Linked DNA regions of Homo sapiens: region 1 is linked to region 2. The links are contacts of gene promoters, found by promoter capture Hi-C in blood cells and fetal thymus (Javierre and others, 2016). All regions are on one chromosome and are shown on one strand. The core of a region is centred on a gene start or on the middle of the fragment in contact, and the rest is flanking DNA. Distances in the headings are between cores, read along the strand shown. Region 1 overlaps PLXNB1 (plexin B1). Region 2 holds the start of NME6 (NME/NM23 nucleoside diphosphate kinase 6).

The links. Contacts are between HindIII fragments. The CHiCAGO score rates a contact against its expected background, and 5 or more counts as called.
Region 1: a fragment that was not itself captured here is called in contact with the fragment with the promoter of NME6 in region 2 in 4 of 17 cell types (megakaryocytes, endothelial precursors, M1 macrophages and 1 more); the score reaches 6.5 in megakaryocytes.

What each region holds. Positions count from the first base shown.
Region 1 is chr3:48,414,577-48,419,820 of GRCh38, reverse strand. PLXNB1 (plexin B1) reads left to right here. Exons shown (of 38, transcript NM_001130082.3): 11 at 1-244; 12 at 455-577; 13 at 782-904; 14 at 1,279-1,372; 15 at 1,458-1,630; 16 at 1,759-1,910; 17 at 3,370-3,475; 18 at 3,654-3,790; 19 at 4,062-4,238; 20 at 4,474-4,645; 21 at 4,780-5,022. Among named protein-coding and RNA genes, the nearest start is that of PLXNB1, 13 kb to the left of the region's middle. The HindIII fragment of the contact is 450 bases long and covers 2,868-3,317 here.
Region 2 is chr3:48,299,013-48,304,130 of GRCh38, reverse strand. NME6 (NME/NM23 nucleoside diphosphate kinase 6) reads left to right here and starts at 2,764. Exons shown (of 6, transcript NM_001308426.2): 1 at 2,764-2,778. RefSeq lists silencers at 2,342-2,561, 2,862-3,061 and an enhancer at 2,652-2,781. The HindIII fragment of the contact is 12,296 bases long and covers 1-5,118 here.

The DNA.
Region 1 (5,244 bases), core at 1,843-4,342, 120 kb before region 2:
TGTTCCTGCCACCACTTTCCCAGGGGCCATGGGCTCCGTGAAGCCCGCCCTGGACTGGCTCACGAGAGAAGGCGGCGAGCTGCCCGAGGCGGACGAGTGGACGGGGGGTGACGCACCCGCCTTCTCCACTTCCACCCTCCTCTCAGGTGATGGAGACTCAGCAGAGCTTGAGGGCCCTCCCGCCCCCCTCATCCTCCCGTCCAGCCTCGACTACCAGTATGACACCCCCGGGCTCTGGGAGCTGGTGAGGCCCAGCCCAGGAAGGAGGCCTCAGGGGAGGGGATGTGGGGAAGATGCTACCCCTAGCTTGCCTTGTGATTCTGCACTGGGAGGAGGTGAGGGGCAGGGTGGAGTCTGCAGCCCCACACCGGCCTTGCCTCTGGAATCTGGCAAGGCAGAGGGCTGAGCTGGGCAGGGTGGGCTCCATAGACTGCCTTGCCCTTGGTGCCTGCAGGAAGAGGCGACCTTGGGGGCAAGCTCCTGCCCCTGTGTGGAGAGCGTTCAGGGCTCCACGTTGATGCCGGTCCATGTGGAGCGGGAAATCCGGCTGCTAGGCAGGAACCTGCACCTTTTCCAGGTCAGTGTGTCCTGCCTGCCGCTGTCCTTGCAGCCTCCTTAGCTGTTGAGAAACTCTGCACAAGCCCTGGGGAGCAGGAGGAGGGCAGAGTCCGAGGGCTCAACTCCAACCCAGAAGCTGTGCTGGGGGATCTGTTGGGTGACCTGCAGGACTCCCTGGGCCCAGCTCCTGAAGCTGCCCAACAGCTGTGTTCTCTGCCCTCAGGATGGCCCAGGAGACAATGAGTGTGTGATGGAGCTGGAGGGCCTCGAGGTGGTGGTTGAGGCCCGGGTCGAGTGTGAGCCACCTCCAGATACCCAGTGCCATGTCACCTGCCAGCAGCACCAGGTGCACACCATGAGCGCCTGGGTGGGCACGGGTGCACTGCACTGGCCACAGGCTGGCTGCCAACTGTAGCTGGCTGCACCACACTTTCCAGAGCCACGCTCTGACCGTGTCGCCCTGAGGGAGTCTCCACACCCATTTCTGACCTCTGACCATGTGCCCCGTGGAGTCCTTGCATCCCAGCTCTGAACTCTAACTTGAGACCCCATGGGGTCCCCATACTCCATTTCTGGCTCTGCCCTCCAACTTGTGGCCCCATGGGGTCCCTCTGACCCTATGCTCCTAACTGGTCGTTTTAGTCCTTTCTCTGACTAACCCCTCCCCAGGCCTGACACTTCCCCCAGTGCTTGACTCTGAACCCACTCCCATTTCTCCAGCTCAGCTATGAGGCTCTGCAGCCGGAGCTCCGTGTGGGGCTGTTTCTGCGTCGGGCCGGCCGTCTGCGTGTGGACAGTGCTGAGGGGCTGCATGGTGAGCCACCTGCGGGCTGCTGGGCTGGCGGTGGTAGCAGGGCTCTCCCAGGCCTGCCTCTCACGTGTGTCTCTGCCACCCCCAGTGGTACTGTATGACTGTTCCGTGGGACATGGAGACTGCAGCCGCTGCCAAACTGCCATGCCCCAGTATGGCTGTGTGTGGTGTGAGGGGGAGCGTCCACGTTGTGTGACCCGGGAGGCCTGTGGTGAGGCTGAGGCTGTGGCCACCCAGTGCCCAGCGCCCCTCATCCACTCGGTTTGTTGAAAGGCTGGCCATCCCTTCCTCAGTGCTGCCCTTAGAGGGAGGGTGTGGGGGCCCAAAGGTGGGAGGTTGGGGCTGCCTTTCCAGTTGAGTAGAGGTGAGCAGTCCTTGTCCTGGAACAGGTGGAGCCACTGACTGGGCCTGTAGACGGAGGCACCCGTGTCACCATCAGGGGCTCCAACCTGGGCCAGCATGTGCAGGATGTGCTGGGCATGGTCACGGTGGCTGGAGTGCCCTGTGCTGTGGATGCCCAGGAGTACGAGGTCTCCAGCAGGTAAGCTGGCTGCACCCAGCAGGAGCACGGCGCAGCCTGGGGCCTCCGCGGTTGGCGTTGCTGCTTGGGGCCTCCCACCCACCGCTCATCTGCCCCCCTCTCTCCCTGTTCCTTGATCCTGGCCACAATGCCCGAGTGCCAGCGTTGCCACTGAAGACCCTGAGCACCCACCACACCTGTAGGTTCCTGGCCTGGGCTGCTGGGGAATCCTTCCTGGGCCCGTCACTGCCCAGAACTGACTCGTGGCTCTGCTTCCTGCTCTGCTCACCTGGTCTTCTGAGGGACTGTGGATATATTAATAGCTGTGGCAGCAGGACCCTCAGATCAGACAGATAAGCTCAGGGGCTGGCCTTCTCACCAGCTCACTCTTCCCCAGGCATTGTCCTGGGCTGCCAGGCTCTTCAGGAAGGTAGACTTGGAAGGCACACCTCAGAAAGGCACACTGGCCGAGGGCCAGGCTCCACTGTCGTCTCTAGGGACCCCTGCTGCCTTCCTGGGGCTCCTGGGTTATGGTAACCTGGCCAGCGGTTGCAGGCCCCAAAGGTACACACGCAGGACATTCCTAAGGAGATGTCCATAAGCAGCAGGGCCCAAACGTGGCTGAATATCAGGGTAACCTGCAGATCCTGTCCCAAACCAACACAAACATCTGGATTCAGGAGGCCCACGGTGGGGCCCCCAAATCTGTATTTGAAACAAGGAACCACTCTCCTGGAGCACGGAGTGTCCCCTGAATGTGTTATGACCGAGAACTTACGGTGACTATCTAGACTGTTAGTGTTCCAGACCATAAGACTGCTGTGATTTATGAAGCAATTAGCATATATTCTGTCTGGAGCCTCCCCTGGGTGGCTCACACGTCACTTGTGTCTTCCTAGTGTTTGCAACAACTGTGACAATGTCACTGAGTTGAGCCACTGCAGGCTTAACACTCTGGAAGTTTAATTTGCCCAAGCTTCTATTTTCTGGCTAAGAACCAGCATTTTCTTAGATGGTTCACTTTCCCTTCACCTGTATTTCCCTGTCTGACTAGAGGCTTTCAGGGACTCTTTTTCCTGAATAAATCAAGTTTCTACCATGCTTTGAGTGGGTACTGTGCATGTGACGTGGCGGAGGACATGGGCGGCTAGCTGTGCCCACTCACTTGCTCAGCAGCTCGCCCCACAACCAGGCTGACAGGGCCCCTTTGTAAATTTATGCCACAGATAAATTCTTCCTTATTGGGGGCCCCTGGGGTTGAACTTAAATGATTGAAGCCACAAATATTAATTCTCAGATACCAAGGCCTTCTGATGTGTCATAAAGAATTCCCTCCAAAGTGAGAGAGGGTCTCTGTCAATCTTATGGAGCATGGGAAGGGGAAGACCACCTGACAGTAGGGCAGGGAGAGGGGCTGCCAGGTAAGCTTGAGGGGCCCTTGATGCAGCCTGGCACCCCCTAGCCTGCCCTGTGCCTACAGCCTCGTGTGCATCACCGGGGCCAGTGGGGAGGAGGTGGCCGGCGCCACAGCGGTGGAGGTGCCGGGAAGAGGACGTGGTGTCTCAGAACACGACTTTGCCTACCAGGTACCTGACTGCTGAGCCACCCCCAGCTGCCAGCGGGCCAACCTCTCTGGTGGCTCCTCTCAACCCATCTGGTTATTCCTTGGTGGGGCTCCCAGTCCTGGGCCAGCCTGTCTCTCAGGCTGTCCCTGCCTCCATGTGTCTGGTCTGATGCTCATCTCTCTCCCTGTCTGTCCCACAGGATCCGAAGGTCCATTCCATCTTCCCGGCCCGCGGCCCCAGAGCTGGGGGCACCCGTCTCACCCTGAATGGCTCCAAGCTCCTGACTGGGCGGCTGGAGGACATCCGAGTGGTGGTTGGAGACCAGCCTTGTCACTTGTGAGGGCCACTTCCTCATCCTGCAAAAATCCATCTGCTCCAGGGGAAAGATGGAGGGGTCTGAGATCCTGGGGAGAGCAGAAAGGGGAAGAGGGCCAGTCTGCTCCTTCAGAGAGTGGCCAGACCCTCCCTAGCCAGCTGTGGTGGGAGTGCACCTCCAGGGACACCTGGTGGAGACTGCAGTCAGCGCTTGAGGGAAGCCAGTTGGGGCCTGAGTGGTCCAAGTTTTCCCTGCCTGCGCCCCTGCATTCATTCCCACCTCCCCTCCCAGGCTGCCGGAGCAGCAGTCAGAACAACTGCGGTGTGAGACCAGCCCACGCCCCACGCCTGCCACGCTCCCTGTGGCTGTGTGGTTTGGGGCCACGGAGCGGAGGCTTCAACGCGGACAGTTCAAGTATACCTTGGACCCCAACATCACCTCTGCTGGCCCCACCAAGAGCTTCCTCAGGTGTTGGGCCAGGGGTGTGGCTGCATGGCAGGTGGCAGGGAGGTCTTTGCAGCTCCACTATGTGGGGGTTTGTAGGGCTTTATGTTGAGGCACTGAGAATCCCATGCTGCTAGTAGGGGCAAGGGGTCGTGTGGTTTGGGGCTGGGGCTGAGCTGACCTAGCCGGGACTGGGCTGTGCTTTAGGTCCAGGTAACATAAGCCATCTTACGTTACGTAAGCTCACGGTCTGTTTCAGTGGAGGACGTGAGATATGCGTCCGTGGCCAGAATCTGGACGTGGTACAGACGCCAAGAATCCGGGTGACCGTGGTCTCGAGAATGCTGCAGCCCAGCCAGGGGCTTGGACGGAGGCGTCGCGTGGTCCCGGAGACGGCATGTTCCCTTGGACCCTCCTGCAGTAGCCAGCAAGTAGGACACCCTTGGGTACCCCCACACTCTCCCCTTGCCCCATACCACACCCTGGGGACAGCCAGAGCAGGTGCCAGAGGAGGCTCTTCCCATCTTTGCTTGGCCCCTCGTCAACCTGCCTGTCTTCCTTCCAGTTTGAGGAGCCGTGCCATGTCAACTCCTCCCAGCTCATCACGTGCCGCACACCTGCCCTCCCAGGCCTGCCTGAGGACCCCTGGGTCCGGGTGGAATTTATCCTTGACAACCTGGTCTTTGACTTTGCAACACTGAACCCCACACCTTTCTCCTATGAGGCCGACCCCACCCTGCAGCCACTCAACCCTGAGGACCCCACCATGCCATTCCGGCACAAGCCTGGGAGTGTGTTCTCCGTGGAGGTACAGCTCCTACTTGGACCTGGCAGGGCCCCGAGACCCTTCCCTTGGCTGGACAGCACTGCTGTGTGTGGCGGAGAGGCCGAGACAGTAGAGCAAGGGCCGGTGGATGGACATGGCTCCTCATCCTTGCTGTGGTGGGGGCAGAGGGGGCTGGTGGGGGGTGCCTAGCCTAGCATCTGGCACGAGCTGGACTGCTTGGCTGGTGGCCCGGGTCCTGATGCA
Region 2 (5,118 bases), core at 1,515-4,014:
TCCTATATGATTTAAAAGACAATTGCATAAAGCAATAGTTAATAATAAATAATAACAGCCAGGCGCAGTGGCTCATGCCTGTAATTCCAGCACTTTGGGAGGCCGAGGCGGGCGATCCATCGCCTGAGGTCAGGAGTTCAAGACCAGCCTGGCCAGCATGGTGAAACCCCATCTCTACTGAAAATACAAAAATCAGCCAGGCGTGGTGGCAGGTGCCTGTAATCCCAGCTACTTAGGAGGCTGAAGCAGGAGAATCGCTTGAACCCGGGAGGCAGAGGTTGCAGTGAGCCAAGATCACGCCATTGCACTCCAGCCTGGGCAACAGAGCGAGACTCTGTCTCAAAATAATAATAATAAATAATAATAACAAATTATACGCTTGATGATGTGTCACAGGTTTCTGAGGCTCTGTTCCTCTTTTTCTAACTTGTTGAGATGGAGGCTTACTGAATTTCCAGTCTTTCTTCTTTTCTAATATATGTATTTTAGGCTACAAATTTCCATCTAAGCAAGGCTTTAGCAGTATCAATTTTTAAAAAATTGTATCTAAGTACAGTATACATACAGAATTCACATAAGCGTAGCATTGAATGAGGCACCTGGTCAGTACTGTTTCTAAGTGTTTAGTAAATGTTTTTTATTACTACTGTGAATTGTCCTTTGCCTCTTATGCCATAGCATCCTGGCAATGGGGAGGGGTTTGAGGGTGGGATGGTGAAGAGATTCTGGGATTCCATTTTATTGGAGCATTTTTTTCCCCTTGCTTCTCATAAGGTGTCTGTCGGGGAGAGATCTGTGTCACTTATTGCAGTTTGTTGCATGCTGGAATGCTGCAGATTCTGGAATGCCATCTGTATCAGTTGTCTGGAATTTGGTTTCACATAAGGTTCTTGTCTTCTGTTTAACTGGTTTGCTGGGACTTCTGAAGTCCTGATGATCATACTGGGAAGGCAGACTCAGGGGTGGCGATGCTGGCTGTGGCCCTCATCTGCTGGGCCATGGTGGTTATTGTGTTGCTTCTTTTGCTGTGTCCTAGAACAGGGGCTTTACTGAGCCACCCATGTCCTCTGAGAGCTTTGCAACTTACAAGGACTGTTCTCTTCCTTCAGGGGCTGGGATGACTTGCTGATTTAAGCCCCTTTGTTGAGATACAGAGGTATTGTCATAATGACTGGGACTTGTGTTGCTCATCTTTGAGGAAGATTTGTTTAGGCTTGCTGTTATCCACCATATCTTTTATTTAGAGTAGTTTGCTGGCTAACTCACTGGGTCCTTTGGCCTACTGCAGATTCAGTTGCTACAACTCCGTCAGTGATTCCGTGTAGGGAGAAGTAATGGGTTGTCATTTTTGGAGTCAGGGTTGGGGGCCTGGGGTTTGAGAATCAGGTCAGAATTCATGGGTTGAGGTTTAGGGATTTGAGGTTGGGATTAGGAGGTTAGAAGATAAGCATCAAGGGCTCAGGATCTAGAGACCAGGTCTAGGATTAAAGGATTATAAATTTAGGGACTAGGGCTTGGGTTAGGATTGGAACTGAGTAGCAGAGGAGTTAAGATTAGAATAGGGGGTGGTGGTCAAGGGTCTAAACAAAAAGAGAAGAGATGCAAGGGTCTGCGGAGAGACTGGAAAAACTTTCCTCGTAAGTTCCCAAAGGTGACTGGGTATCAGGAAACTATTGGGAAGTGGCTTCTTATTGCTGCAGGGACAGAAGCCATGAGTTGGGGATAAACCTTCCAAGAGGGCAACACCTGTGTAGGCAGACACCGAAGTCAGTTAAATGTGCAAGTAAGTCTTTACATTGATGACAGTTATCGTTTATTTTCATTCTTCTCATTCTCAGTGATTTCCCTCAAAAAAAAAAAAAAAAACCCAAGAAACCAAAACACTTTTTTTTTTTTTAACCATCTTTATTCAACCTGTCACCAAGTTTCTGGTCACCTGCCACAGCTGACCCCCGATCCATTCTCCCTGTCCCCATCCTCTCCATACATCACAGTACACACCAGGAATACCCCCAGTTCTCATCTCCTCACCCTGGGCTGCGTCAATAGACTCCAGAGTAACCCAAACCACACCCTGCTGCCCAGATTCCTAATGACACGTGAAAGGCCGTTATGACTTGCTTTCCTCATGCCCTATGCACACCTGGGCTCCAGCCAAGGATCCTCCTTCATCAACCCCCATATTAGCTACGATCCTTCATGCTAATGTATCGCTCAGAGCTCAAAAGACTTTGAAGGGCCTGTGCCTTCGCTATCGAGCGCTTAAGTTCTTTGCCCTCCGCGTACTTTTGACAAATACTGGGCATCAACCATGTTCCAGGAACTACCCTGGGCAAAGAAAATAACTGGGCAAGGTTTCCATCGGTGTCTCTGCTGGCGGGCATCGCCCCCGCCGGGCCGCCACCCTGAACGAGCCCGTCCGGTCCTCTGGGTTCCGCCACCCTGCGTAGCGCTGCGCCAGCACCCGGCCCAGCACTCCCTCCCGCCGAGGGCGCCCAGGCCGGCTTCCGAGGGCGCCCAGGCCGGCTTCCGAGGGGCGGTTCCCACAAGCGAGTTCCGGCGCCCAGAACGGCTTCATCCTCTCGTCCCGTCCGCGGCAAATGCATGCGCCTGGAAAACCCGCCACCCTCCAGGGCAACTCACACCTCACCTCACGCCGCGGCGCAACCGGACTAGGACCCCGAGCAGGGCTGCCCAGGGAGCGCCTGAAGGACCCTGCGAGGGCCGCAGGCTATCCAGCGTGGCGCCTGGTGGCCGGGCCCTGTGCCGGAGGACAAGGTGAACCCGCAGCCGGACTTCTGCTGCACTGGGGCTCCGAATGACCCAGAATCTGGGGTGGGCTTAGGCCCCGGGTACGAGGGGTGAGGGCTGCGCGGTTGCAGGCCTAGAGAAGTAGGGGGCTGGGTCGAGAGTTGAGGCCGTGAGCCCGGGGGGCTGGAGGGCGTGGCCACGGGGGTAGGGGCGCAGGTCCCGGCCGCGCGTGGGTGGACCAGGGCTGGGCCGCCGCCCTCCAGGAAGCGAGTGGTGGCCCCCTCGAGTGCTGGGGTGGCAGTGTACCGACAGCTTTACTTTTTTTTTGTTTTGGAGACGGAGTCTGGTTCTGTCGCCAGGCTGGAGTGCAGTGGCGCGATCTCGGCTCACTGCAGCCTCCGCCTCCAGAGTTCAAGTAATGCTCCTGCCTCAGCCTCCCTAGTAGCTGTGACTGTAGGCGCGCGCCGTTATGCCTGGCTAATTTTTTTGTATTTTTAGTAGAGACGGGCTTTCACCATGTTGGCCAGGATGGTCTTGATCTCCTGACTTCGTGATCCGCCCGCCTCGGTCTTTCAAAGTGCTGGGATTACAGGCGTGAGACACCGCGCCCTGCCTAAAATTTTTAATTCTCATGGAGTCACCTTTAAGTCTAACAGGATTCTCGACTTGTCAGTTTGTTGTAAACCAAGAGTCAAGACAGCCACAACTTAGCTGCGTTAGTAAAGGAACCATGTCCTCCCTACAGGCCGCGTGTTCTTGCCACGAGAACCCCTAGCAGCCTGGCCTTGGAATGGCTGGATGAGGTGCATTCGTTGGTTCATTCAGATACTGTTAAGAGCCAGCTGTGTGCTAGGTACTGCTTACACCTTCTGGTGGTGAAGACGGAACTGAAGGGAACTTGCAAGGAGCTGTGAGAAAGTGTAACGGGAAGTGAGCTAAGATCACTAAGGTGGGCAGGAGGCAACCAGAGAAAGCACATTCAGGACTGCGAAAACTACTCACACAAAGGCTGTCAAGCCAGAAATTCTTTCAAAACTGAAAGGCCCATGAGGTTGGAGCTAGAGAAACTTAAGGAGTGTGGGGTTCCAGATGAGGCTAGAGAGGTACGTGGGGAACCACAAGATCATGCAGAGCCTGGGAGGCCGTGATAAGGATTTTGGTTTTTATTCTAAGAACAGGGTGCCCTTTAAAGGGTTAAGGAGGGGAACCATATGATTAGATTTTCATGTGTGGTTCACTTTGGCTGCTGTGTGGAGATTGTAGAGGTTGGCAGGACAGAAACTGGGAGACCAAAGAGGAGGCTGTCAAGATGTCCAGAGGGGAATGATGATGTCTTAGAGTTATGGTGGTAGCAGTTGAGGATGGGAGAATGGTATGGGTTTTGAGATATATTAGGTAGGGAAAATTGCCAGAAGTTGGTGATCGTGTGGATATGAAGAGTGAGGGAGGGGAGGTGTCATGGATGTCTCTGTAGACAGTTGCTGAAAATGACGTGTTACCACCTGTGGCATTAGGGAGAGTGGGTTAGCTGATCTTGTACTGGTTAGATTGGGTGTGGCTTTATGGTTTGAGTGGAAAATCAGGTTGAAAGCTGTAGAAAGGACATGAATAGGAGCGACCATGGCAGTTTCTTTGCTTGGGCCAGATTCTAATACCACCTTTAACATGATTGACAGTTTTTAGGATAAGATAAATGAGAATGTTGTCTAGACTCTGTCCCTGCCTATGTTAATGGAAGCCTTCTCTGTATTTGTCGACAAATGATTTTATATATATACACACATATATATTATATATATATACACACACACACATACACACATATGTAGTAGAGTCAGGGTCTTGCTTTGTTGCCCAGGTCAAACTCCTGGCCTCAAGTACTGATATTACAGGTGTGAGCCACTACACATGGCCAAATGAGAGATAATATTGAGATAAGATTTTGAGACAAAGTCTTTACTCCTGCAGAGGTGATAAATTTCTCACGTATAACTCGGATTTCACAATTGGAAAAGACCTCAAAATTCCCTTAGTCCAGTTTATAAAATGCTTTTATGTCCATTATATCATTTCTACAATATTGAGCTCTTACACCATGCTAGACATTAGGAATACAAAGATGAATAGAAATAAGACTATATAGGTTTATTTAGTAAATAAAATTGATCAAGCACCTTTGTGTCAGGCACTGTTTCAGATGCAAAATGGTTATGACTTGTTCCTGATGTTGGAGTTGTGTGTTGACCTCAGTGTTACCACTGAGGACAGCTGAGTGTATTAACAGGTTTGATTTGGGCACAGGAGATCCTGATCTCTCCATAATATTAGAATAGAGATGGTGTTTATCCAGCAGACTTTTTGGTATCC